Regions from separate parts of the Homo sapiens genome. Here regions 1, 2, 3, 4 and 6 are each linked to region 5. Evidence: promoter capture Hi-C in 16 types of primary human blood cells and fetal thymus (Javierre and others, 2016). All regions are on one chromosome and are shown on one strand. Each heading gives the region's core, a stretch centred on a gene start or on the middle of the fragment in contact. The rest is flanking DNA. Distances are from core to core; before and after follow the strand shown. Region 1 has its middle 190 kb from the start of MIR3977. Region 2 overlaps LOC105379050 (a long non-coding RNA gene). Region 3 has its middle 240 kb from the start of MIR3977. Region 4 has its middle 46 kb from the start of MIR3977. Region 5 holds the start of VCAN (versican). Region 6 has its middle 170 kb from the start of MIR3977.

What was found. The method cuts DNA at HindIII sites, captures the fragments that hold promoters and counts their contacts. A CHiCAGO score of 5 or more calls a contact.
Region 1: a fragment that was not itself captured here is called in contact with the fragment with the promoter of VCAN in region 5 in 8 of 17 cell types (M2 macrophages, M0 macrophages, erythroblasts and 5 more); the score reaches 13.7 in M2 macrophages.
Region 2: a fragment that was not itself captured here is called in contact with the fragment with the promoter of VCAN in region 5 in 1 of 17 cell types (endothelial precursors); the score reaches 5.2 in endothelial precursors.
Region 3: a fragment that was not itself captured here is called in contact with the fragment with the promoter of VCAN in region 5 in 1 of 17 cell types (fetal thymus); the score reaches 6.8 in fetal thymus.
Region 4: a contact is called between a fragment that was not itself captured here and the fragment with the promoter of VCAN in region 5, in 1 of 17 cell types (endothelial precursors). The highest score is 5.9, in endothelial precursors.
Region 6: a fragment that was not itself captured here is called in contact with the fragment with the promoter of VCAN in region 5 in 2 of 17 cell types (monocytes and M2 macrophages); the score reaches 6.9 in monocytes.

The regions. Positions count from the first base shown.
Region 1 is chr5:82,644,494-82,648,751 of GRCh38, reverse strand. No RefSeq gene overlaps it. Among named protein-coding and RNA genes, the nearest start is that of MIR3977, 190 kb to the left of the region's middle. The HindIII fragment of the contact is 971 bases long and covers 1,624-2,594 here.
Region 2 is chr5:82,732,737-82,736,977 of GRCh38, reverse strand. LOC105379050 (a long non-coding RNA gene) reads right to left here. Exons shown (of 4, transcript XR_948504.3): 4 at 1-2,489. Among named protein-coding and RNA genes, the nearest start is that of MIR3977, 110 kb to the left of the region's middle. The HindIII fragment of the contact is 3,000 bases long and covers 622-3,621 here.
Region 3 is chr5:82,599,091-82,603,310 of GRCh38, reverse strand. No RefSeq gene overlaps it. Among named protein-coding and RNA genes, the nearest start is that of MIR3977, 240 kb to the left of the region's middle. The HindIII fragment of the contact is 2,022 bases long and covers 694-2,715 here.
Region 4 is chr5:82,792,179-82,796,378 of GRCh38, reverse strand. No RefSeq gene overlaps it. Among named protein-coding and RNA genes, the nearest start is that of MIR3977, 46 kb to the left of the region's middle. The HindIII fragment of the contact is 1,029 bases long and covers 2,022-3,050 here.
Region 5 is chr5:83,469,773-83,474,321 of GRCh38, reverse strand. VCAN (versican) reads right to left here and starts at 2,578. Exons shown (of 15, transcript NM_004385.5): 1 at 2,299-2,578. RefSeq lists an enhancer at 1,277-2,149. The HindIII fragment of the contact is 5,577 bases long and covers 1-4,549 here.
Region 6 is chr5:82,666,674-82,671,057 of GRCh38, reverse strand. No RefSeq gene overlaps it. Among named protein-coding and RNA genes, the nearest start is that of MIR3977, 170 kb to the left of the region's middle. The HindIII fragment of the contact is 5,103 bases long and covers 463-4,384 here.

The DNA.
Region 1 (4,258 bases), core at 860-3,359, 830 kb after region 5:
AAAATCACCAAGAGAGGGGATAACATCTAACCATGTATCAGTAGGGAGGTCAAGGTGGGATGGAAGTTCCACATTTCTGAACTACTGAACCCCAGAACATATTTCAGCAGCCAAGAGGGAGCCAGCTTGTATGCTGAGAATGTGGTTGTGTAATGAAATCAAAGAGTTACACTGCTGCCCTAGGCCAGTATCATCTCCTTGAACTACTGCAGCCAAGAGAGGAATTTGCACTAGCCTCAGTGACAACCACTGGAACAGAAAACTCAGCCCCAGCATCAGCACTTTGGGTGTAACAGGAAGCAGCGATGCTCTTCAATATTAGAAGTGGCCACAGTGGTGAAAGCAGGACAATTCCCTGACCATCTGGATTTGAGCTGAGGTCTACTTTAGTAGCTCCATCTGAAACAACTACTTTAAAGATGATTGTGGAGTTCTCCAGCCTCATGGGTGCACGGACCTAGCTGAGGTTGGATCCAGCTCCAGAGGTTACCCTTTAGAAAACATGAGTTAGCATCCTGAAGGATTCTTGGACATACCAGGGCGAGGGGCAAGGGGAGGAGACAAATTTTCTCATAAAGGAAACCTCCACACAGCCTATTATCCCTGACCGCGAAAAGGAACAACAACATTACATAATACTCAAGGAACACCTAAAGTAAAAAACTATTTGTAAATTTACAATATTTTTGGCACTACATTAGGAGTCATATTGATTAAGACAATTTTGCTGGAACCAGCTTTTTTAAACTCCCTACTCTCATACCAACATAAACAATACCCAAATTCTAAGTACAAATACGAATACCTGCTCTCATTTGAAGTGAAAACTTAATAACAAAATCCTTCAGATTAAAATGCTGATCCACCAGCAAGATCACATAAGCATTTTAAGTTTATTTATACAGCAGGATAAACATATGTCTAGCGCAAAAAAAAAAAGTTTTTGACTAAAATTAAGTTTGGTAAGTCTGTATTATAGTTTTCTTCAAAACATTGCATCAAAAAATAATGTGAAAGGGAACTGTAACCAAACTTTAATCAATCACTGTTAGTTTTTTACATGTTCTCGTATGTCCTAGTACGACTAAACTTCCTCTATTCCATTATACCCCATTTTGTATTTGACTTTTAAGAGAATAAATATAGCTACATATTAGAATTGCATTTTCTTCTACATTTTACTTGAATCCGGGAATACACTTTCTGTTTTCTAAACTCCAATCAGGCTTTCTTCAAATTGAAGATTATCTCTCATGCTAGTTCATGAATTTATTTCTCCTAAGCTTAACCTCATTTTCTATTTTCAAATAAAATATTCCTCCTTCATTTATTTTAAGAAAGCTAGAGACTACCCCCTGTTATTGTCAGACATACATAAATTTTTACACTGAACTCGAAGGAGTGACGATCCATAAGTTGGTAATGAAAGTTGTACAGAATAGCAGCCAGCCCACGATGAGTTCGTGTAGTGGAGTTGAAGGCAGAAAATGGGGAAGAAGGGCTCATTCAGTTCCAGTCCATCAAGTTCATAATAAGCAATTAAATATCTGTAATTAAATCTCCATTTACTCAGCCAACCAGAACGGCACGTTCAAATCCAGTCTTCAGGGTAAGTAACAAGCTTTATAAAAACTACACTCATGAATTCTGATAATAAAGAATGTAACAAAAACAATAAAAAATAAATGTGTGCTTAAGAGATCTGGTGGCATTTAAGGTCTAGACAGGCTTAGCTGAACTCTGAAATTAATACACACCTGCAGAAATAAAATAAACAACACTAAAAATTAATATGCATTTATTTCAGTACTGGATAAGGGTAGCAATTAATGTGGGCAAGAAAGGGGTTTAAGAATGAAACACCTGTGGGTATTAAAAATGGTAACATGCCCCTTTAAAATTATTTCTGTTGCTAGGAACAATATTCACGACACATGGAAGAGGGAGATTTATAATATCATAAAAATGTGATTGCTGGACTCTAGTAGCATTCGTGGGTCTCAATAATACCCTCATTCTATATAAGACAAAATGGATTATATGGCTTTCCATAAAAAAATAATAAACACAAAAACAGTTTCTAATTTGAGTGAAAGTGCTGCTAATAAATGATTGTAAGAGTTACTGTATTAGGGTTTATTGGGCACTTCATGTTTCAGAAATCTGAATTAGAAATGTAGCATTCAGCAGAAGTGAAAATATGACCTCTGTTTTCCAGTAGCTTACATTGTATCTGGAGACTCAAGACCTACAAGAAACAAGTTCAGAGCAATTGTAAAGACGTGCACACACATCCACTTGCAAGATACTTTCCTCTCATTATTTCACTAGTCCTGTAATTCTCGTATAATATGGAAGGAGAGGAGAGCCATTATTTTTATCTTCCTTTTTTAGTTGGCAAAACTGAGACAATGCAGGCTTTTGGGCTTGAAAACCTTCAGTTATTCTGTAAAATAATATAACTAAAGGATTAAACAATAAAATCAGGTGCTGAGGTAAGCAGTTACGTACAATATCTTAGTTACAGCTTAAAACAACCTTATGAGATAGAAATACAAATATATTCCCATTTTAGAAATAAGAAAAATAAAGCTTATCAATAACTTGCTTCAGGACACCCAGCCCATAAGTGATGGCACCCGGATGCAGAATTTGACCCTCTTTCTGTCTGACTCAGAGACCATGATCTTAACCATTACAGTAGCCCACCCTCCACCATATACTCTGCTCTATGAATTTTGGCAGGTGACTTAACCTCCTTGAGTTTCAGTTTCCGCATGGATAACATGCAGCTAACAACATCTATCTCTGCAACTATTATGTGGATTAAATGGCATGACTTTTACTAAATTCTTGCCCCAGTAAATACTCCATAAAAGATGTTTATTTCTCTCCCGCTTTCTCTTGGGGGATTTTCTAAAGGTTATGCTGCTAACAAATGGTAGATCCAGTGCCAAGACCTATGTCCTCTGCTTCTATGTTTTTAGCTTGCCACAAGTCTCTTCCACAATATGCCAGTGCTGCGCAATAATCACAATAGGCATTTTCTTCTGTTCATAACATTTATTGCAGTTCCACTACTTATATGCCCAAAGGCGTTGTTATGTAATAGAGAAGAGCAAGAAGCTGGTGTTCCTCAACATTCCCTAGACATTCATTTGAAAAGCTACTTTCTCTGTAAGCTACGGAACAACCAATGACTTTTTTTTTAATTTTTGAGGGGGATAAGGGTGAGACATGCTAACTGAAATAAAATGATATGTTCTACAAACAAAGGAAGTCCTGGAGATTATTGATAAGTACTCAGATTTGGGAACTATACTGTGAGAATATCATTAAAACCATAAGGCAACCAGCTGGCAAACTATTATTTCTAGAGATGCAGTAGATTTCAATTGACTTGTTTCATTCACTGGGGTTCCCTTTTCTTTTGGATATTTCTTACTATGCTATCAGAAGTGTTTTAGCATTTTCTATAATCTGAAACGAATTGTTTAAGAAAGTGTAATTTACATGCTAAGCCTGTACAAGGACACAAACATAGTCAAATTCTCCATCAGGTAGTAACTTACTAACCAGCCCCACTGGCTAACATACATTAAGATGCAGTGAGTTATGTTTTGAAATGCATGAGTTGTGTCTTGGTGTTTGAAGACCAGATAATACAGGATCTTAATAATTAGTTGTAAGAATAATCACTTGTAATCACAATAATCACTGGCAAAATGTTAATAACAATAATATTGCATGGTGACAATTCTTCCAGCTCCGACACTAACTGAAAGCCGTCCTTCTCTGCCGAGGAACAATAGAAACCAGAGGTGAGAACTTGCAGTGAATCTTTGAATTATTCATGAGATCATACATGTCACTCTCATCTGTATGTTAAAAAAAAACCACTAGAGTGTAATAGCACATTAGTGATGCAAATTACCAAAAGGCAGACTTTATTCTGGTTTAGTGATGATTTTCATAATTCGGTCCACACAGCATCCTTAGTGAAGTGCCTGTTTTTATTCTTTACTGTTGCTAGGATTCATTTTGCTTGGCCAGGTCAACATTTTGGACATCTTTATTTCACTTAACTCATATTTATCCATTTTTATCAGCTCCTAATGCACAGCAACATTGATTAAACCAATTTCATAATTCCTCTGAGATGTAGTTAGAGTAAGTTTGCATCATTTGTACATTTAAAATATGCAAATTTAATAATACATGCACAAATGAGGGAAAATAGGCTATAAAAGGACATGAG
Region 2 (4,241 bases), core at 872-3,371, 740 kb after region 5:
CTGAATTGGATCCACTCTTAACATATTTTTACCAAACCAGAATTTGACTCAGCAAATATTACCAAATAGAATGGAGTTTCTTGCTGCTCAGGAGAGAAGTTGATGGGTTAACTTAGAAACCCCTATTCCCATGCGTGGTGTCTAGAATTGTCAATAGATCACATCCACATGATAAATAATGTGGCAGACAGAAGGCCAGGCCTTGCCCAATTTTCCAAGGTGTTGAGGATAGGTGCCTTAAGACACAGTGTTTGAGAGGAGACAGGATGTGAAAGGCTATCCTTGCTCTGAGCCTGGAGGACACCCTTCAACACCCAGTCAAGCTAAATGACATTTCACAGGCGGGAGAATATTTAAGGTAATATCTACTATACCTAGAAAGTATATTTAGAAAGTACAATTGCATTTAGAAAGTACAGTTTTACAAAACTATGGAAAACGTGACTATCTTTAACAATATAAGTCTCTACACACCTTTTAGGTCGTTAAGATTGTTGAACACTTTTTTCTTTGGAAATGAGTTGAAGAACATCATTTTGACTCCCTATCAAAAGATTCTCAAAAATAACCAGAGTTTTAAACATCATGCCTGATTCGTTTTTCCCCATTGATCCAGAAGCTTCAATTATTAAATAAAACAAAAATCTGTTGGAATGCAAATTACCTCTTTTCTAATACTTTGAAGCTCTCCTGTGACTTTCACCATATACTTTACTGAGTATGCCAGCTGTTTGGGGCTTCTCTTTTTCTCCTATGAATTATAAGTTCCTAAAACCCAGAAACTTTTTAAAAATTCATTTTAAAAATAATTTCTTACCGAGACTAGCTTGTTGTGACTACAGTAGAAAAGTGAAAAATAGTAAATAATATTAATTGAGGCTTGGCACCGTGGCTCACACCTATAATCCCAGCACTTTGGGAGGCCGAGGCAGGTGGATCACTTGAGGCCAGGAGTTCGAGACCAGCCTGGCTAACGTGTCAAAACCCCGTCTCTACTAAAAATACAAAAATTAGCCAGGCGTGATGGTGCACATCTGGAATTCCAGCTACTCAGGAAGCTGAGGCACAAGAATCTCTTGAACCTCGGAGGTGAAGGTTGCAGCGAGTCGAGATCGCGCCACTGCACTCCAGCCTGGGTGACAGAGCGAGACTTTGTCTCAAAAAAAAAAAAAAATTAATTGAGTATATTGCAATAAGGTAAAACCATTTTTGGATGTGAAGCAGAGACTTGAGTCTACAGAAATCCTGTTTTAATTGTGTTCCATCAAGGTCTTGGAGTTTGGTCTCTGAGTAGGCTAAATAACAAAGGATTATTATGCTCGTGCATTGCAAGCTATGGGAAAGTTCATAAATTATCTTGATGACTCATTTCCTCTGTCACTCTAGGACTTCTAATATAGGGAGACCTTTTCTGTTGCCTTTAAAAAAAAAAAAAAACTTGTGAGATAAATGGGGAGAAAAGTCCTGAAATTGAGCTTGTTCAATAAGTGTTATTTAATGTTCATATAAAAATTAAACTGTGTTATAACAATGTTAATAACCAATTGATTCCAAAGGCCATGCTTAAAGGCCTCTGCCTTTAAACTCAGTCTTCTTAGTGCCATTTTGCAGAGTGGCTTGTGACCACAGGAGGTTATTTATTTCATCCTAAGCCACACAGGATATTTCCCATACATATGCTCAGTATACCATGGAGTGTAACAAAGGTCCCCTGTTCTTGAGGCAGCGATTGAAAAGAAAGTAGAAGGGAACCGTCTCTTTAATTTCTGAATATTGTGTACTATCAGACTCTCTGAAATGCAATTCAAAACCTTAAAAGGTTGTGGCATTTCTAGATTTCTCTGTCTTTATCTAGTCACCTACAAAAAAAATTTACATGCTTATACATTGATTGGAGATAAATAGCTTCATTTTGCTCTTTGAATCTTTGACTAGGCATATATATTTTAAGATTTTTTTTTCTAAGTACTTAAGACTGTCCTAAACAAAACAAATGCTGAATCAATATTTCAGGATTATCATCTGTAAACTTCTGAAAATCTGCCCATGGATTATTGATGTGTTTTGTTCTCATTCCAGAATCCTTTGGCATCTGCTTCATTTCACTGTTCTCTCATTTTTCAGTTTTTCATATAGGCCAGACAATTAACTACAGCATTAAAGTAGCAAGGATGTTAATTCTGTGCAATGCTTTGAAATATACTTCATTTGATATTATATACTATGGATAAAAGTTTTTATTTTCTCCTTATTCTTCCTTTTGAGGAAGGGAAAGAAAGAGTGAACTAAAGACATTAAACTATGGCTAACTGACCTCGTGAGTCAGTGTTTCCATGAATTTTACATCTCTCATTGCTGAAATTTTGGATGTTCTGTTCTTCATTTGAAAGCCTGCTTTTTATTGTTGGCGTGTATTTCCTGTTTTCTCTTTTCTCAGTTCCCACTCCTTGCGTCAGGACTCCCCTCAAATGATGAATTTACAAAGGAACCTGTTAACAGAGTAATAAACTCGGCCTCCCCACCCAGTGCCTGTCAGCACTCCCACCCAAGACCTCCAGTCTCCACATGGCTCCTTTTCTCTTTTCCTCTCTTGTCTCTCTATCACCCAGAGCCCTTTTCATGTACGGCAATATCTCACATGGGGACATCCTCAATTCCCAAATGACCTCAGGGAAACCTGACATTTGCCCCTGACACTAAAACTTACCAAAAATGAAAAAAAAAAAAAATAGAATTTCTATGCACAAGTCTCCTTGAATTTGGAAGCCAAGGAAATATTTTCTGCTATTGCTACAGATAGACTGAAGAAAGTTCTACTTGGAAAAACCAGAGCTGTCTGAAGAATGTAGGGGAGTGATGGATAACAAATTTCCTTTTGGGAGGTAAGTCTAAGGACATGGGACTGCCTCTGAGATCATCGCCTGTGTCAGAGGCAGGTGGAGCATTTAACACATGAGGGCTGAGGTGTGAGATTCTCTCAACATGCTTGGTATATTGATACTTAGGGGTATTAGTGAGCTGGCTCTAATTTGGAATTATTTAGCTCCCACTTCTTGCATGTTCCTTCCTCCTCTTTCTCTCAATAGGCCTTAAATCATTAATTACAAACATGACATGACATGAAAACCCATGATCTTTGATAGTGTTGGGCTCAGACAATGATACCCCAAAGCGAACACTTCAGAAGTAACAAAATTTTTCTCTGGCCTTCTCCTTCCCTCCTGTCTCTCATCCTTCATTTCCCCCTGAGGCACACCATAGAAACTAGAATCTCTCTTCCTTAAGGCGGTCATAGAAACCAGGATCCCTTTTCCCCAAAGCCAGCCATAAGACCTAAAACTGTGACTCTAAAAATATTGCTCTAACCTGCCTTGCTGCGTTTCCCCCGTGGTCTATTACTATTAGATCATAGCCTTTTGCCTAATCATATGCCTACATGGCTGTCCATGATTAATAGAACCTAAGCGTAAAAATGGATAGTTCACCCTGAGCCTTTGGGTCATCAATGTGAAAACTCTCATGTCATATAAAACTATGATCGAATAACTTTGTTATGGCTTTTCTTCTGTTAATGTGTATTGTCAATTCATTTCAGCAGACTTACACTTTAGAGGGGAAGCTTGAACTTCCATGGGATGGTTTCTCTTTACCTGTGTGTGGTAAGTCTTCAGTGAAGTAAATAGTAATTAGGACCTTTAATTATTTAATTAAATAATTTAATTTAAATAGTAAATTATTACTTTCACCAGTCAGAACATTACTTATTTGTTAAATTTCCCTAAAGGCAAAAATAAACTAATTCTCAAGCCACCAGCTACAGCTTGCTTTAGTCATGAAATTGAATAGATAGGAAATGAATGCTGAGGAGTATCCTGTACCAATTCGAAGTGGGTCTTTCAGGTAAATTTACTAAGCATGTTTAAAGATCAGCCAAGGCTCTCAAATGACAAAACATAAAAATTGGTGAAGAATTTTAAAATTGATCAAATTTAAAAATTTGATTATTTATCAGTAATTAAATAATAGCCTTCTGAAATTATAATCTGTATTTACCATGGGGTCTTAAATACTTTATGGACATCTATATTTATTATTGTATTGATAAGCTTTGCTTATCAATATAAGCTTTTCTTTGTATGGTATGGCTGTGTCCCCACCCAAATCTCATCTTTAAATGTAGCTCCCATAATTCCCATGTGTTGTGGGAGGAACACGGTGGGAGATCATTGAGTCATGGGAGT
Region 3 (4,220 bases), core at 455-2,954, 870 kb after region 5:
CACTGTGATTTTCATTTGCATTTCCCTAAAGGGTAGTAAGTTGAACATCTTTTTATATGCTAAAGACTGTTTAAGCCACATTAATTTTTAGTGATAGCTAACATCTCTAGCTAAAAAATAACTGCATTCTCCAAAATCTTTCACCCAAAGAAACTAGGCTGCTCGGAAATACAGTCATGTGTCTGCTGGAAAAATGACCAATGCCATTTACTTTGTTATGGAGAGTTTCCGGAGGGTAGGAATCGTTATCTTCTCCACCAAGCACAAGGATGTTTATTGAAGTAAATTAATCTGTTGAATATGTATCTTTGAGCTTAATAATAGAACTCCAAGAAGGTGAAACTTCACTTTCTTATTTCATAGAAGTAATAGAGACATCAAAAGGTAGACCAACATGAGGGAAGCTATGGGAGCATAATTTTAAATCTCTAAAATATCCTATAAAGCATAGACTTGTGACCCCCATAATGCTATAGCTTATTGTTACATGTATCGGTACATTGTAAGCAAAACAAAAACTCTAACTGCTACAGATTTTAAAATCTAAAAATTAGTATATAAGGGAAATAAATGTTTGTTCTATCATAACTTCAGCATTACACATGGCTTTCATTGTACATAAAGCCAGTATGGCAAATGTCACTTCTAATTGTTGGTTGCATTTATGTAAGGGCTAAACTTTTACTTCAAGCTTAGTTAAATATAATATCTCAGTAGTTAAATGTTCCTGATTCTACCGACCTATTGTCCATTTTACCTGTATTTCCCAGGTAAATCATATGTTAGTGAATTTTCACGTATGTGATGTTGTTCTCTGATTCTTAGAAGTGATTTAAGTATTTTTGTTGTTTTATAAACAACATGGAATTCATTTTGGCTTTTTCATGGATGAATACTCACTGGCTTGAACTTTAACAACCCTAGAGAGATTCAATCATTCTATAGAGCTCAGGAATTGCAGGCAGATTTACATACTAAAGCCAAGCTAACTCCAAACATATTGCTATGGTTTGAATTTGGCCCCTCCAAAATTTATGTTGAAACTTATCCCCATTGTGGTGGTATTAAGAGGTAAGGACTTTTGGAAAGTGATTAAATCCTCCTTCATGAATGAATTAATGCCTTATAAAAGGACTAGAGGGAACTAGCTTAAGACCATTTTTACCTTTCCATCCCTTCTGCCATTTGAGGACACAGCATTCATCCCCTGCAAAGGATGCAGCAACAAGATGCCACATCAAGGCAAGAGCAGCTCTCACCCCCAGCCTTCTAGCTCCTTGATCTTGAACTTTTCAGCCTCCAGAACTGTGACAAATAAATTCTGTTGTCTAGAAATTACCCAGTCTTGGATATTATGCTATAGCAGCACAAATGGATTGAGACACACATGTAATGCAGGGTCAAATGAGAAGCAGGTGTGACGAGAGGTGCAAGGAATTGCCATTACCCTAATACATGTTTTGGGGCTCTAGTAGGGCAACTCGTTTTGTGTCTATAATAGTCATTCATTTCCTCTCACACACATATTAGATAATATATTGGATTCATTTGGTCACCCTGCCAGTTTATTGTTCATTTGTGACTAAGTAACATGTTTGGTCCTCATTTCCACGTCAGTTCTATTTTTGTTTTGTTTTGGAGGATTTTGAAGCTAACACAAGTTTATAAACATGGACAGCAGATTTTAGGAAGAAAACAAATATGTAAGAATAATGTAAAATATGGCAATTGCCAAGGCCAGCTCGGTCGTGGAGACCCTAACCCAGTGGCACCAGAGGAATTAAAGACAAAGACACAGGAATAGAGTATAAAGTGGAAATCAGGGGGCTGACAGACTTCAGAGCTGAAAGCCATGAACAGAGTTTGACCCACACATTTATTGACAGAAAGCCAGTGATAAGCATAGTTCTTATAGATTATAGATTAACTAAAAGCATTCCTAGTGAGGAGCAGAGAAACAGACTCTGGCTGATTATTTGCAGCAAAAGCATATTGCTAAGGCACAGGCCACTCCTGCTATAATTTGTGGTTAGAGCAGTTTTCCGCTCCAGGTCGGGCCAGGTGTTCCTTGCCCTGCTCCAGTAAACCAACAACTTTTAGCAGTGTGCATGATAGCCATCACGAGCATGTCACATTGCTGCAGAAATCCTGTTTATGGCCAGTCTCTTTAAGGACTGTTTATGACAGGCTTAGGCCTTGCTTTTAAGTAAGAAAACTTGCAGAATTCTAATATTCTAGGAAGGTGTGGGTAGAAGAATTAACATCAACTAAGACTGATTGGAGTGGCAAAATGCTCGTTGCTACCTTAATATCTATTCTTGCCTACTCTTCTTTTCTCTTACACATAGTTTATTTTACTGCCTTCCTTGCAGATAAAGCTGGAAAATGAAATATTCCAACCATTTTTGCCGCCTTATTAGTTTTCCATCCTGCTGCCTGGGAAGTGAAAATTATTGCAGGATCTCCAGTAGCCATCTTGAATTCATGAGGAAAAAGCAAAGAGAATCTTAGAGATCTTGGCCAAGACATCTTAGAGGTGCTGAAACAGCCAGCAAATTCCTACCTGAACATCTTATAACTTGAGAAAAATACACTTTTTTGTGATAAAGCCATTCATGTTTGAATATTCTGTTATTGCCAGCTGAACCTAATCCCAGCTGACGCTGTTGATAATGGAATGGATTCTGAAAGATAACAAATCCCATAGGCTAAGCTTGAAGTAAAAGTTGAGCTCTTACATAAATGCAACCACCAATAATGCTTCAACGCAACCACCAACCAATGCTTAGCTTCAATGCAGAAGAGTATTTCTGGCTAATATATTAAAGGTATAATGGAGGTCATACCTTTGCTATATGATGACATGTACAAATTTAGAAATAGGAATAAGGATAAAGTTAGGATTGAAACATACATAGTGGGAGAATCATGAAAGGGCTTCGAATGATGGGCTGATTTGGTGATTTTACTAACTGGAACAGACTAACCTGGTCATAGGTTGCATGTGTAACTTCTATTCCAGGAGTCGAACTAAAATTGTTCATGGTGTGAGCAACATAAACCAAAATGAAATTAGAATGTTAGGTTATTCATAATGTTTATGAAATAGTCTTCATTGATCTTTATGACTTACAAATGAGGGTATTATTTATATTTTTAAAAGGGACACCTCAAAGATGATTTGTTAAACTTCCATGGTAACTAGTAACTATTGGGAAATTATCTTTGAAATGTTCAAGATCTTTGCATCTTATATTAAGATGTCTTCCATTGTTTTTTATCTAGTGTATTTGATGAGCAAGAACTAAATAATTCTGTTGGCAAATGACCACAAAAAAGTTATGTCAAAACTTTTATTCAATTATCTGGACATAGTGGGAAGAGAGAAAGAATATAGGTCTGAATTATGCAGACACATGTTTCAATTTTCTAGGCAAATATTTTACTTATTAGACAATTTTCCTGATGGCCTTTGGAAACTTTCACCACAAGATGAAAACCAGTTAAACTGTAGAATTCGTTTCAAGTAAAAAAAAAAAATACTAACTTCCATAGCCACACAAGAGGCAAAGATAATTTTCTCCTGGATAATATTTTCAATTGACTCATTTTTTTGGTACAATAAAAAAAGTTAAATCTAAACATGGAACTCTCCCTTTAATTACTATTATTACTTGTATAGAACTAGAAAATTTAGGTTAAATCCTTAGCAATTAATTCTATTAGCAAGATACTATATCTGTAATGAAAAACAGTTGCTGCAACGAGGATAGGATTTTGCTTTTTTTGTCTTATTAATTGAGAAATTAAGAAGTAAGAAGAGGGTAGACTGTGGTTATAAATAATTATTCCTACTAGTAATAGCTATCCTATATTGTACACATACTATACTCCAGACATTATATTAAGAACTGTACAGTTTAAAAAAATCTTATTTCAACATTTTTAAAAGGTAGGTACTCATCTTTATTTGACTACTGGGACAGGCAACGGAGGCTCAGAGAGGCTTTGTATTTTCCCAGAGTTACATAATTAGTAGAAGTGTCACAGGGAGAACCTGTGTCTGGGCTGTCTGACTGCAAACCTATGAATGTTATCATTGCATAATACTTCTTAGACTTTGGTGGAATGTATGTTATAATGGAAAGTAGGTATAAATATTTCACAATTGGACAAGATACCTTAAATAAATGAAAAGAAGACTTATGGCTGAGTGTATA
Region 4 (4,200 bases), core at 1,287-3,786, 680 kb after region 5:
CTTCATTTATTAGCAAGAAATCATTTATAAAGAGAAATTTTCATTACTTATTTGGTTCCCTTGGGTTATGGTTTTTATTGGAAAGTCAGAAAGAATATTTGATTCTTTATCTTTATTTATAAGCTACTAAAATGAGTTGGCTTTCTGGCATCCTTTAAAAGTGATGAACAAGGTTTGTCATGGTGGTAATTGTTGTGTAGACACATTGTTATCTCAAGAATCTATACATATATACCTCAATACCGTAATTTTTTTTTGGTTATTATTCTTATTGATGCTTATTTTTGGCCACTGGGAGCCTCTTTAAGTTGGCTCCTAAGTCCTTTTGTCATGACCCTGGTAGTTTGGAGAGCTTCCTTGCTCTTGAAAGTGACAAAATATTTCTGACAATTCTGTAAATTATGTTTCCAGATCTGGAATCAGCTCTTTCTCCAAGGAGCCTTTGTTCATTTTAGTAGGAAATGGTATTTAGAGACTAAGTGTAGTTACATTGTTGAATTAGGGGTACATACATGTAGATTTATGTTTGGTCTCTTTATTCTTGTCACAATACCTTACCATCTTAACTTCCATAGCTTAAAGTCCTGTAATTTTTAGGATAAGTCTTTTTACCTCTTCTTCTTGAAAATTCTCTTGAATAGATTTGACCCTTTTGGAATTACATATAAATTTAGAATCAGCTTATTAAGTTTCATGGAAAAAAATTCAAAAATTTTTAAGCATTTTACTGATGTTATAAATGAATGCTAGGATAATGATATCTTTGTATTATTGCATCTTCCTATTAATGAATATGGCATATTGTTCCTTATACTTAGATACTTTTTATATTTTTCAGAAACATTTTATAATTGATAGGAAGTTTTGCTCATTTTTTTATGTGTGACTGACAGTATTTGTGTCTGTTGTGGATCTTTTTTTCTATTTTATACATATATTATGTATATATTATAGAAAATATAATGTTATATATTATAAGTATTATATATACTATGTATTATAATATATAAATGTAATATATACCTACATTGTATATTTAATGTATATTTATATATTATATTATATAGTACATATATTTTCTGGGAATGTAAATTAGTAATAAAGTATATTATACTTTATTAAAATAAATGAGCTTCAGAGAAAGGGAAAATCTGGCAATCATCCTGAGAGTAAATGAATAAAAAGAGTAAGAGTAAAAACTGGTCAAATCGATATTTCTCAAAGTGACAAAGCAGAAAATAAGTTCCCTGTTATTTGACTGGCCAATTTGTGGGAAACAGTAGTGGTGAGTCAAATATGAGACACTGATGATGAATGAATGAAATCGGATGGCATAAGAAACATGGTTTGTCTTTAGATTCCCTACCTTTGATAGAGCTGAGATACAGAAAAATGTTTCTCTACTAGAAGAAAAAGAGAGAAACACATAGTGACAAATGCTAAAGAGGCCATTGAGAATGGTAGTCAGGGAGTCAAATGCTACTCAGCTACAACCATTATCATGCTGCAAGAAGGTGAGCCTACTGTAGCCTGGTCCTCTGAATTTTCAAAGCAAACCAGAAATTCGGATTTTGTGAATTCTCTTGGGTTGTAAGTTTTGGTGACAAATTCCAATATTTTAAGAACATTGACCGTATAAAACACATATATAGACTGTTTATGGTTTGAGGGCCGCTTTTCTATGATCCCTGGATTAGAGATTGTTAGGGCTCAGAAATCAGTAACTCCAAATGTGTTTTGACATGCTGAACTGCAGAAACCTCATGTAAGTGCCCTCCTCCACCCACCGTCTCTCCCAAAACCTTTATCTGCCTAAGATCCAGGCCCACCAAAAGGAACAATTGTTTTTTCTTCTCCCTGTAAAACCAAGAATGCAATGATGCCTGAACAGACCCTTTCACAAGATAATGGACAAGCTAATTTCTGTTCCCTGAGACATTCATTCTCCCTAGTAATCCCCTCAACAGAATTTCTCTTTGCCCCTCTCGGGTAACCTGTTCTGCCAAGGCAGTATCTAAGCTTCTGAACCATTTGGGATGGTGGGCATCCCTCAGTGATTCTCCCTATGTGCACATTAAATAAATATGTGTGCCTTTTCTCCAGTTAATCTGCCTTTTGTGAGTTGATTTTTCAGCAACTCCCCAGAGGGCAAAGGGGAAGTCTCTCTTGGCCCCCACAAGGCTTTCTAAATATAATAATTTTTAAAATTTAGTATTTGGATGGTTGGAATACTTTAGTCAATAGGGACAACAGAAGTAAAACCCCACTTTACTTTCCTTTGGCGGGTTTTTTTTGTTTGTTTATTTGTTTTTCAATCTACAAATTCCTCCTTCCCACCACACTAGCAATTCTGAGACACTCCAGTAGGGGGCACCTATCACGTCATTTGAGGATCTCTGCCACCACTAAAGATGGGATTGTGCTGCTTTCCTTAAGTTGTGTTGAGATAAGAAAAAGGTAGACTAGATAATCATATAAACACAGACTCTGAAGTCTGGAAGACGTCTTGGAAAGAATTAATTCCACCCAGGGCTATGTAGGTGAGGAAGCTAAGTCCCACAGAAATTGAGCGGCTTGTTCCAGGACACATCTTAAATTAGCGGTATCTGCTGCTTTTTAGGTTTCTTAATAATTTTCAAGTTTTGTGCTGCAGTGTACAGTTAGCCAAGCTAGTCATGGGATTGCATGAACATCCCAGGGAAATGCTAGTTTTTTTTTCATTATGCATAATTAGGGCTTAATTAAATTTAATTATTTATAATTATCCAAGTAGAGATTGAATATGCCATATTGTCTTTACTATGCTTGAGTAAAAATATAAAAGGCCTGCGAAGGCAGTAATTGAATAAGAATGCAGAGCCTTGTATGTGTAGTAATTACACTGTAGTTTCCTGCTAGTTTCCGACACTACTGATGGAGGTTTGCATAAAAGATCATTCCCTCCTCATGATAACTCTAGGTAGAATTATCCTTTTTTATACTATAGGCTTATTATAAAAATTGTTTACAAATATCTGGTTGTGTATGTGTACAAAACAGATGTTGAAGCTTTTAAACAATCAGTATGAAAAACAATAGTACGCAAACTTCTTTATTACCAAAAATAATTAAATGTCATCTAACTTATTGATAATTCCAGGTAAATAGCAATAGTACATGTTATAATTTCTTGGGTCCTACTATATTACTCCATTTTCATACTGCTATAAAGAACAGCCTGAGACTGGGTAATTTATAAAGAAAAGAGGTTTGACACACAGTTCAGCAAGACTGGGGATATCTTAGGAAACTTACAATCATGGCAGAACGCAAAGAGGAAGCAAGGCACCTTCTTCACAAGGCAGCAGGAAGGAGAAGTGCTGAGCAAAGGGGGAAGAGCCCCTTATAAAACCATCAGATCTTGTGAGAACTCACTCACTATCATGAGGACAGCATGGGGGAAACTGCCCTCACGATTCAATTATCTCCACCTGGTCTGTCCCTTGACATATGTGGATTATGGGGATTACAATTCAAGATGAGATTTGGGTGGGGACACAAAGCCTAACCATATCACCTACCATGTGTCAAGTGATGCTAAGCACTTTGCAAATTATGTTACTTGCACTTTTTAACATGCCTAACAGGTAGCTAGTATTCCTATCATAGTTTTGGTGATAAATTCAAATTTATAGATGAGGAACTGAGAATCAAGTGATTAAGTGACCTTGGATTTGACCTGAGGCCTCTGACTTCAGAGTCTGTTACATTAATATCTGCACTGTGTTGCCTACCTAAGTAGATGTTTCAGATGACATCAGCATCATCTAAAATTCTAACAAAAATCACTCATTATAGTCTTTTAGAGGATTAAAGAGAGTTTACCAAAACAGTTTGTTCTTCATTCCACATTTCCCTTGGAAGTTCTGAGACTTGATTTCCTCAATGCAACATCTAACTAGTGGCATTGCTCAAACTTTTGGCTTGTGTTTCTTTCTTAGCACATACTTCATAAAATGTAGTTTGAAGCAAGACCCCTTACAAAGAAAGTGAAAAGATCCAAGAAAGCAATGCTGTCAAAACGAATAAACATTGTAAGAGACTATTTGTGGGCACTAGTGAGGAAATTATCTGACAATATGTCATAAATTTAGATCCCAATTAAACACAGGATATACAATAGTTGCCTATAAAATGTGAACATGTTGTAGATACTTTAAA
Region 5 (4,549 bases), core at 1,329-3,828:
TGTTTGAATGCCATCTGCCCCATCTCCGTTCCTTTCTCCTTTTCCTCCCCTCCACGGTCCTCTTTCCTTCCACTTCCCTTCCTTCCCTTTCTTTTTTCCTCCCACTGCCCGCCTTCTCTCCACTTTCCCGTCCGACGCCCGCCCTGAAGTTGAGGAAGTTTAAGTTTTGGATTAGGAGCCCTTCTTTTGCAATATCCTGGGGCGGGGCCCTAGCGTTGGGTTCAAGTGGTCATGGGTTTTGAGAGCACGGTATGTGTATTATCTTTCTTAAAGACGCCCAGGGTGGCGCGTCTAGACCTCCGAAACCTGGCTCCACCCTGGCCATGTGCGTTCGTCCACTAAGCGGCGAACTGGACCCAGGGCGCCGCGTGCGTTCCAGCCGACTCGCGAGAAGGCATCTCTGCACTTTGCACAGACCAAGACCTTTTTTCAGGGTCCTCCAAACTCCTAGATGTACGCCGCAGATTGTGGAGTGCAAAATGAATGACTTAAGGGAAAACTAGGGCCTTCCATCCTTGAACACAAGGTTGTGAAAGATGCTCGCTTGGTCTGGGGGGCTTGTTTTTCTCCGCCTGTGCGGGACTTCTCCATCAGGGGGCGCCCACACCCGCCGCAAAACTCCCAATTCCTAGACATCTAGGTTCTGCAAGTCTTGTGAGCTGAACTGGGGGCAGATCCGAAGGAGCGCACCGCCTCCCTCGCTCCTCCCTCCCTGCTGCCTTGGAGCACGGGAAAGGCAGGGATTTCACACTAGCCATTCATTTGTCAGCTGTGGGGGAGGGGACGCAGAAGCTAGAGAGAGAGAACAGAGGCTGGGAGAGGGGAAGGGAGGCAGAGAAGATGGAGACAGAGGGAGACACAAAGATGAGGAACGCGACCCAGAGAGACTCTGCCGCGGGTGTGCGCGCGGCAGGACAACTCTCCAGGCGCCGTGTAGATTTCTCCCCCTTCCCGCAGCATCTCCCAGGGACATGCAGGACTTGCCGAGACGCAGTTGGATTGGAGAGCAAATAGTTTAGGCTATGACACTATTTTTCTACCCCGCTCTCCTCTGCCTAACACCCAGACCGCTCCACGCCCAGTGACACAGACCGCGGGCCAGAACAACCCGGATGCCCTAGGTCTGCACGCACCAGGGATGTCGCCCTACAGCGCCCACGCCTCTGCAGGACGGTGGGGCGCTCCAGCCGAGGACGTCCCCCGGGGCTCCCGGCACACGCGCGCGCCGCTGCCGCTAGACCTGCCAGTAAAGTTGCTCAACTAGAGCGGAGAACTAGGAGAGGGTGGGGAATATGTAAGGAAACGGAGGACTCCTGTAGTCTGGGCGAGAGGACTGACCCAGAGGCCCCTGATTCGGGTCCCCGAGCCACCTTTGTCTGCAGTGCGCTCTGGGTGCCGGTTTGCTTGTTGAGATGGGAGCGACAGACCCTATTTCACTCTTCAGGGTGAGAAAAATTGTTGCACATCCCTGCCGATTCAGAACAGGCTTTTCCCGCCCAGGGGCCTCCCAGACCTCCGCGGGGCTCCAACAACCCCACCCCCCATCCTCTGCTCCTTCCCTGCTGGCCCCTTCGCACCGCGTGCAGGACAAAAGAACCCAGGGGCGCCGGGAGAGAACCGTGACAGTCCCCAAGTCGTCAAAGAGACACGGCGGGGATCCTGCACCTCCCCCGGCCGGACCTCCTCCCAGACTGCCTGCGGTCTGAAGGGGTCAGGTCCGCGCAAGGTCCCAGGCTGCTTGGGCGCCGGGTCGCACTGTCAGGAGCTGCCCGGGAGTGGCTTTCCAGGAACACCAGGCACTGACCACACACCAGGGGCTGGGAAACCAGGTGGCCTGCACCAAGGCGGCTTCGGGGACTTGTCTGTGGCAAGTCTTGGTAGTCCCCATTCAAACTTTTGCCTCGAGCGTGTTAAGAACAACAACAACAAAAAAATCAAAGTGCCAAAGGTCCCTCTCTTCTCTCCAGCTCAAGAACCCACCACTTTTCTATGATTTCTTTACAATTTATTCCCTCCCTTCCCCCAATTCCGTTAGTCATTTTACCCCCCACCCCACCCTGGGTTTCTTTTGTCTGAATCTTTTTCAACACCAAGGTCCCTCTGTATGCCTCTCCCCAAAAGCCCTTATGAAAGTTACCTGCATTTTTTAAGTGCCTACATTTTCTTAACTTCGCCTTACAGCTCTTTGCCTTAATTAAAGCCTTCTACCAATTGCTTCTTTTTTCTAAGCTCGCGGGTTTTTTTCTATAAGTTTTTTGTTTTTGTTTTTTAAGGGGGGAACAAAAGAAACGTGATTACCTTGGAAGGCGGCTTATTGCAGTTTGGGGGGAAAATTCACTGCAGCGCTGCGCGACTGGGTTCGGCGTTGCCCAGGCGGGTCACATAGGAAGCGTGGTGGCCCGGGGAAGGATGCGGAGGGTGCGGGACGGTGCTGGAAGATGCGGGAGGATGCGGGGCTGGCCGAAGATCTTGGTCCCAGCTCCTGTCCACAACACCTAATGTTCTCGGCTGTTGCGTCCGCACGCCTGGAGTTCTTCCCCAGAAAGGCTCGGGGCAGCTCGCCTGCAAGTTCAAATGCGGGTTGTGACACCCATCATCATTATATCACTGTACCGTCAGAGCCGAGGAGGAGACTCAGCGAGAAGAAGGAGGAGGGAGAGGAGGAGGGTTCATTCACAGGCTCCAAAAGCGCTCCGCAGCTTCAGCCACTCCTAAGAGTCCAGGCTTGGAAAGCAGGCGGAGGGGCGGAAAGGCAGCTCCCCGCGCCTGCGGTAGGGACCGCCTGCCTCCCTCCCCAGGCACTCCCACCTCTTGGCGTTTCTTCCTGACAAGAAGTACCAATCGGCTTGGGGACAGCAGCGCTCCCCATTCAGGGACTCACTCAGTAACATCGCTCTGCTCGCGGAAACCACTGCCCTCCCACTCCTTCCCCACCCCCATTTCCCCGCCCCCCGTGCAGCTAGTTCTGGGTTAGGGGAAAGGAGCCCCCAGGCTCTTAGGGGGCAGGCCAGCAATAGACAATTGAGTACGATCACTTCTTCTCGGGAGCACACAAAACTGTAAAATCAGCAAAGAACTTGGTTACAGCGTGTTTACGCGCCCACAGAGCTTGCCTGTCCCATCAAAGGGAAGTGTCAGGCTCAAGGCTCCTGCCAACCTGAAAGAGACACTGAGAAAACGAGATCCTTCGGGGACCTAGAGGGAAAGTGTAAGAATTCCCCACTGCACTCCCAGGGAACTGCCCAATGGGGAGCCCGGCTTCAAAAGACCCTGGTAATAAAAGGCTGGACAGGAAATTCCCCCAGGCAAATCCCTTGTCGGATTCAAAGAGAATACTTTTCCTCTGCCACAAATCTCTCCCCACATAAGTCTAGATTCTGCTTTCTTCGTTCTTCCTTTCCTTCAGTCTTTCCAAGTATCTCTGAGTAGAATATTTGATAATTTTCCTGAGTAACAGGGACTTCTTGGAAGTATCAATCACCTTTCATGCTTTCCGGAAATAAGACCATAATCTTTCATGCGTATATGCGATTTTTTTTCTTCAGTCAGGCCCACCCCACTGTGTAAACAGCATCAACACATGGAAGAGTCCCCTGCATTGTGTTACAAAAGATTTCCAATAGGACCTTACAGAGAAAAGGGTCAAACAGTTGACACAAAGGATTTCTGTCCCCTTAGAAAAGAGGGACTTTGGATTTTCCTTTTCTTTGAAGTCAAGTATGAGTTTATACAATAGGAACAAAATAAATCCAAGGTGCACATCAGTATAACACTAGGGATACTAGAATGGATGGCAAACTTTTCCTTCTACACAAATATGAAAGTATCCTCACAACTCTTCTCTCTGAAGCCTCTACTTAGAAAATTATATTAAACATAGGACCTCAAAACAGTAGTGATTAAAGATGAAAGCCAATTTTTCCTCTCAACTTCTTTGATTAGTTTGGTTTAAACTTATGCTTTAAAACTTTTAGTAACTTAGACTCCTGTACATGCGCATTTATAAGATTTCTTTTATATTTTGTAATTTGTAGGCATTCAGCATGGTCATTGATTTTAAGTGATAAACAGGTAGAAGACTTGTCAGGATAATTTCAGTTCTCACCATGTGCATCTTTCATTTCTTTTGTTATTTATCAGCCCTCTGCAGTAATATAACTGTCAGTTACATCATTTGGAAATCAATGTGTTTTTGCAGTGAATTATTTATTCTTAGTAAATTTATTGTACTACCATTCCAAACACTGAAATTTGATTTCATCAGATGTTTAGAATGATAGTCACAGAGCAGAATCAGACTTCAACCTTCATGTATAACATGTAAACAAACTAAGGTGCAGAAAGTTACTGTCCCAAAGTCACACAATTAATAGTCCAGTGGTCTTTTCAGTGCTAATCATAGCAACTTTAGATTCAAGATTGCTTGATTCAGGAATGGAGAGAAATAAAATAAAATGAATGTTCATTGAAATATATACTCCAGACATTAAGATAGACCTTTCTGTGAAACACTTCAAGATGTGGATTTGTATTCTCATTCTTAAATTTG
Region 6 (4,384 bases), core at 1,765-4,264, 800 kb after region 5:
ACTCCAAAGAAAATTGTGCCTGCAAAGAAATATGTTTCCACTTATTGAAGTGGCTAAATAGTCAATCATCAGATAATTTTCTTTGGGAGAAATCTTCATAGCCATCTTTGAAAAACATCTGGCCTAGAGGACAGTGCCGATGACTGTTTTATGGTTTAATGCTCCAAGCCTCCTTTCTATTTGTTTTAACTGGCACACTACAGAAACCTCTTTAATAATTGCCCAAGTTATTTTCATAAAGAGATTTTTGTGCCTTTCAGACTGCATAATTAAATTTCATGTGTGCGTAAGTATGTGAGATAGATGATGGATGGATGGATAGATGGATACATAGATACATAGATAGATCACAGCTCAGGTTTGAATTCTGTAACTGTGCTCTCCCCACTTAGTGATTTAGAATAAGTCAAGCATAGACTGAACATAACCCACATCTTTTAAAGATGCTGTGTCCACTAAGCTTGTTCTAAAATAAGTAAATAGTTCCTAGGCATGCTTGATTGTTTATTATTTTATTATTTAACATAAAAGAGAGAACTTAACATGGAAGTAATTTTCAGATTAGTTACCCTGCAGCTGCTGAACCAGGATAAAAAAAAAAAGCCCCAGGGAAGCCATTGCCAGTAATGATGGCATTTTTCACACATTACTTGAAAGTGGAACAAATAAGGAGTCTGGTGCTTTCCAAACAGAAGAAAAAAAAAAACTTGAAATAAAAGCAAAAATTGAATAGAAGTAGCTGAATGCTTCTCATTCTCTGACAAGGTCGTTCAGTGTGGCTCATGGGATGAGTCTATCAGCTAAGTCTCACAAAAAGGAAATCCCATTCTTTATGTATACCCTTCACTGGAAGCTAAATGGGAGGAAGAGAATGTAGTGGAATGCATGAGGAAAGAGCATCTTTATCCCTAGAAAAGGAACAATTTTTAGTCTTCATTTTGGTTAAAGATTGGCTATAGATTTAACTCAGCTATACTGAAAGAAATATTGCATTTGACGTAGGGTGCCTAATAATCTAACCTATGTGACATTCACATTTCCCAATCATGTTTGCCAAGAAGAAATCAAGCTGCATAGCCCTGAGGGCAATTAGAGAGGTAAGAGGGACACTGTTTACTGGGCCTCAGAGTCCTGATTATAGATCATTATTATTCATATTGAGTAACAGAATAAACACTGGTACAGGAGTTCAGGAACATAAGTTCTAGATGTGTATCTGCTTGTTGGCTGTGTCTCCCTCAGAGTTGGATTAGATAAAAATTATGATCCTTTATAGTTCTACATTCTAGAGTTTTTTTTTTTTACAAGGAGCCATGAATATCTTTTGTAAATAAATCATTTTTAAGTCTCTCACTGAATGAATAACATTCATGCACACTAGAATGCAGTTGTTCTGAGGGCAACTAAAATTAGAGTGATGACCCCACATTCTGTTTTAGGAGTCTTTGAACTGCTAAATTAATGACTGATGGGCAATGAATATAGGGGTCATTTTGTTGAAGAGAAGAAATACTGTTCCACAGTTTTCTTGGGGGATAACCCTGGGCCCTTGTCTTGATTTGAAAAGGTACTCAGAATGCAGAACACAGAATTTCAGTAGATTATGAGAAAGTGAGACAATAGAAGTAAAGAATGGATAATTATGTTGGATTACTTCGCAATGAGCTACAAATTATTTAGTCCCAAGCTGTCCAATAAGGCGGGTAGTTGTCACTTGGGTATTAAGCACTTGGCTAGTATGAGTTGAGATGAACCATAAGTGCAAAATACACATTGATTTTGAAGACTTTGTATAAAAAAACTATGGAAAATATTTCAATAACAATATTAATTACATGTTGAAATGATTATATTTTGGATAAAATATATTACTAACATTAATTTTACTGTTTTCTTTTTACTTTTTAAAAATGTGCCTTTTCAAAAATTTAAGATCACTTCTGTGGCTCACCCTGCATTTTTACCAGGTGGTGTTGATTTAGACATTTGCTGACCTTACATGGACCCTGAAGGATTTCTGTTCCCTATTGCATAGCCAAGAAACAAGACTGAGATTGAAGGGTAGGGCTGGAAGTAGAGGGAAGATAGAAGCAGATTGGAAGGGAAAAAAACTAATCGCTGTGCCTGGAGCTATATGGGTTCATGCCAAAATATGTACTTGTATTTGCATCTATTTGTTTCTTTGATTGCATTGTACATGAAGGAAATATCAGTCTTGTTATTTTTTGGTTTTGTTATCCAAGTATCTTCTCTCCCTTATTAGGCTTAGTTATTTTCTAACTAGAGACACTTTGATTCATAGAAATATGAAATATGAATGTATCTTCAGCTCTTCTTCCTCCTTATTTCTAAAGCAGGGAAACCAGGAAAACATGAGAGATTCACAGGGGCCACCACCACAAGAGGTCTTTGGTAATTGATATGCTCTAATGGCGGTAGCAGACTTTGTGGGTTACTAAACACTTTCTATCCTTTCTCCCTTTCAACAATACCCCAGTTTTGACCAAGTATTCAACCTATTGGATTTTTTACTTTTTATTATTTATTATATAAATCTATTCATAGAAAACAAAATCTGAATGACCAATAAACATAAGATGCTTAATATCAGTAGTCAGGGTTATTTAAATTAAACCAAAGAAAATGAAACGCATTTCAAATTCATCAAATTAAAATTATTTTAAATTATTTCAAGTGTAAATTATTTTATTAAAATTATTTTAAAGAATTTGGAGCCGTAGATATTCTCATAAGCTGCTGGTGGAAGCATACATTGGCACAACTGAGAAGGAAATTTAACAATATCTAGTATAGTTGATACTATACGTTTCAACCTAGCAATTCTTCCTCTGAATATTTACCCTAGACACATGGAGAAGAATGTTCATAGCAGCAGTGTTTGCAATACTCTAATCAATATAAGAATGTGGTATATTATACAATGCAATATGACATAGCATTAAAATGAATGAACTGGAGTCTTATGTATTAATATTTAAAAATCTTCACAACATAATACTGATTGAAGAGAACAGAGAATGGCATTTAAGTGTGATACCATTTATGTGAAGTCTGAAGATATGCAAGAAAATACATTATTTACAGCTATCTCTTATATACGTGATAAACAAAATTTAGAATATCTCTTACCTTTGGAAAGAGAGGGATCAGGGAAGGGTACCCAGACCTTCAAATAACATTTTATTTCCTTTAAAAAAGGGGCAGGGTCAAAATGGGCTAAATGGAGACAAACCCTGCCTAAACCACTGTTTGGCAGCATCAAAAGTATTCACCAATTTCTCATTATGTATACTTTCTTCCACTTATGTAACAAACAAATCTTTTTTTTTTTTTTTTTTTTTTTGACAGAGTTTTGTTCTTGTGGCCCAGGCTGGAGTGCAATGGCGCAATCTCAGCTCACTGCAACCTCCACTTCCCAGGTTCAAGCAATTCTCCTGCCTTAGCTTCCTAAGTACCTGGGATTATAGGTTTGCACCACCATGCCTGGCTAATTTTTGGATATTTAGTAGAGACGGGGTTTCACCATGTTGGCCAGGCTGGCCTCGACCTCTTTACCTCAAGTGATCTGCCTGCCTCGGCCTCCCAAAGTGCTGGGATTACAAGCATGAGCCACTGCGCCCACCCACAAATCATTTTAAATACCTACTCTGTGCCAGGTACAGTACTAGGGATATAAAGAAGGAGAACATGTTGGTGAGAGATTCACAGACAGCACTGGGGGCATAAGGCACAGGTGTTTGGTCTGGCCTGGGACAATGGGCAGGGAGGAGCTTACAGAAGCCTTCCTAGTGAAGCAGCCCCCATGGTGGAGCGTCCAGTAATGAGAAATGAGTTAGGGAGGCAAAGGGGGAAGAAGTGAGCCTAGAAACTTACAGAAAAGGGCAAGAAAACAGAAATCCCAGCATTAGCAGACACCCAGAGATGGAAGTGGCCTGATTACTGGGCAGAAACCACAGCCAGTTTTGTGTTGCTGTGACTTGAAATGTGAATTGAGAGATAGGGCTGGAAATGGATGTAAGAGGGGAGGATAATGAGGGATGAAGCTGTAGGTTGGCGAGGAGCACATCGCATAGGACCTAGTGGGACATATAAAGATTTTTTTACCTTTAGTCAGTAGGCACTGGGAGGAAAGTGACATATCTCATCAGGGATGTTACCTGTACCTGATAAAACTGAGATTTCATTGTGACAGGAGAAGGTAGAAAGGGAGAGAAACCAAGGCAGCCAAGTGAGCTTAGAAGCAATGCAGCTTTGAATGACAACCTGAGCTAGATCAGTGGCTACACAGGTGGATTGAGCAGGATGGGCTCAAGAGATATTTTAGATGAAACAAAAGAATTTGGAGATAATTGGATATTGGGGG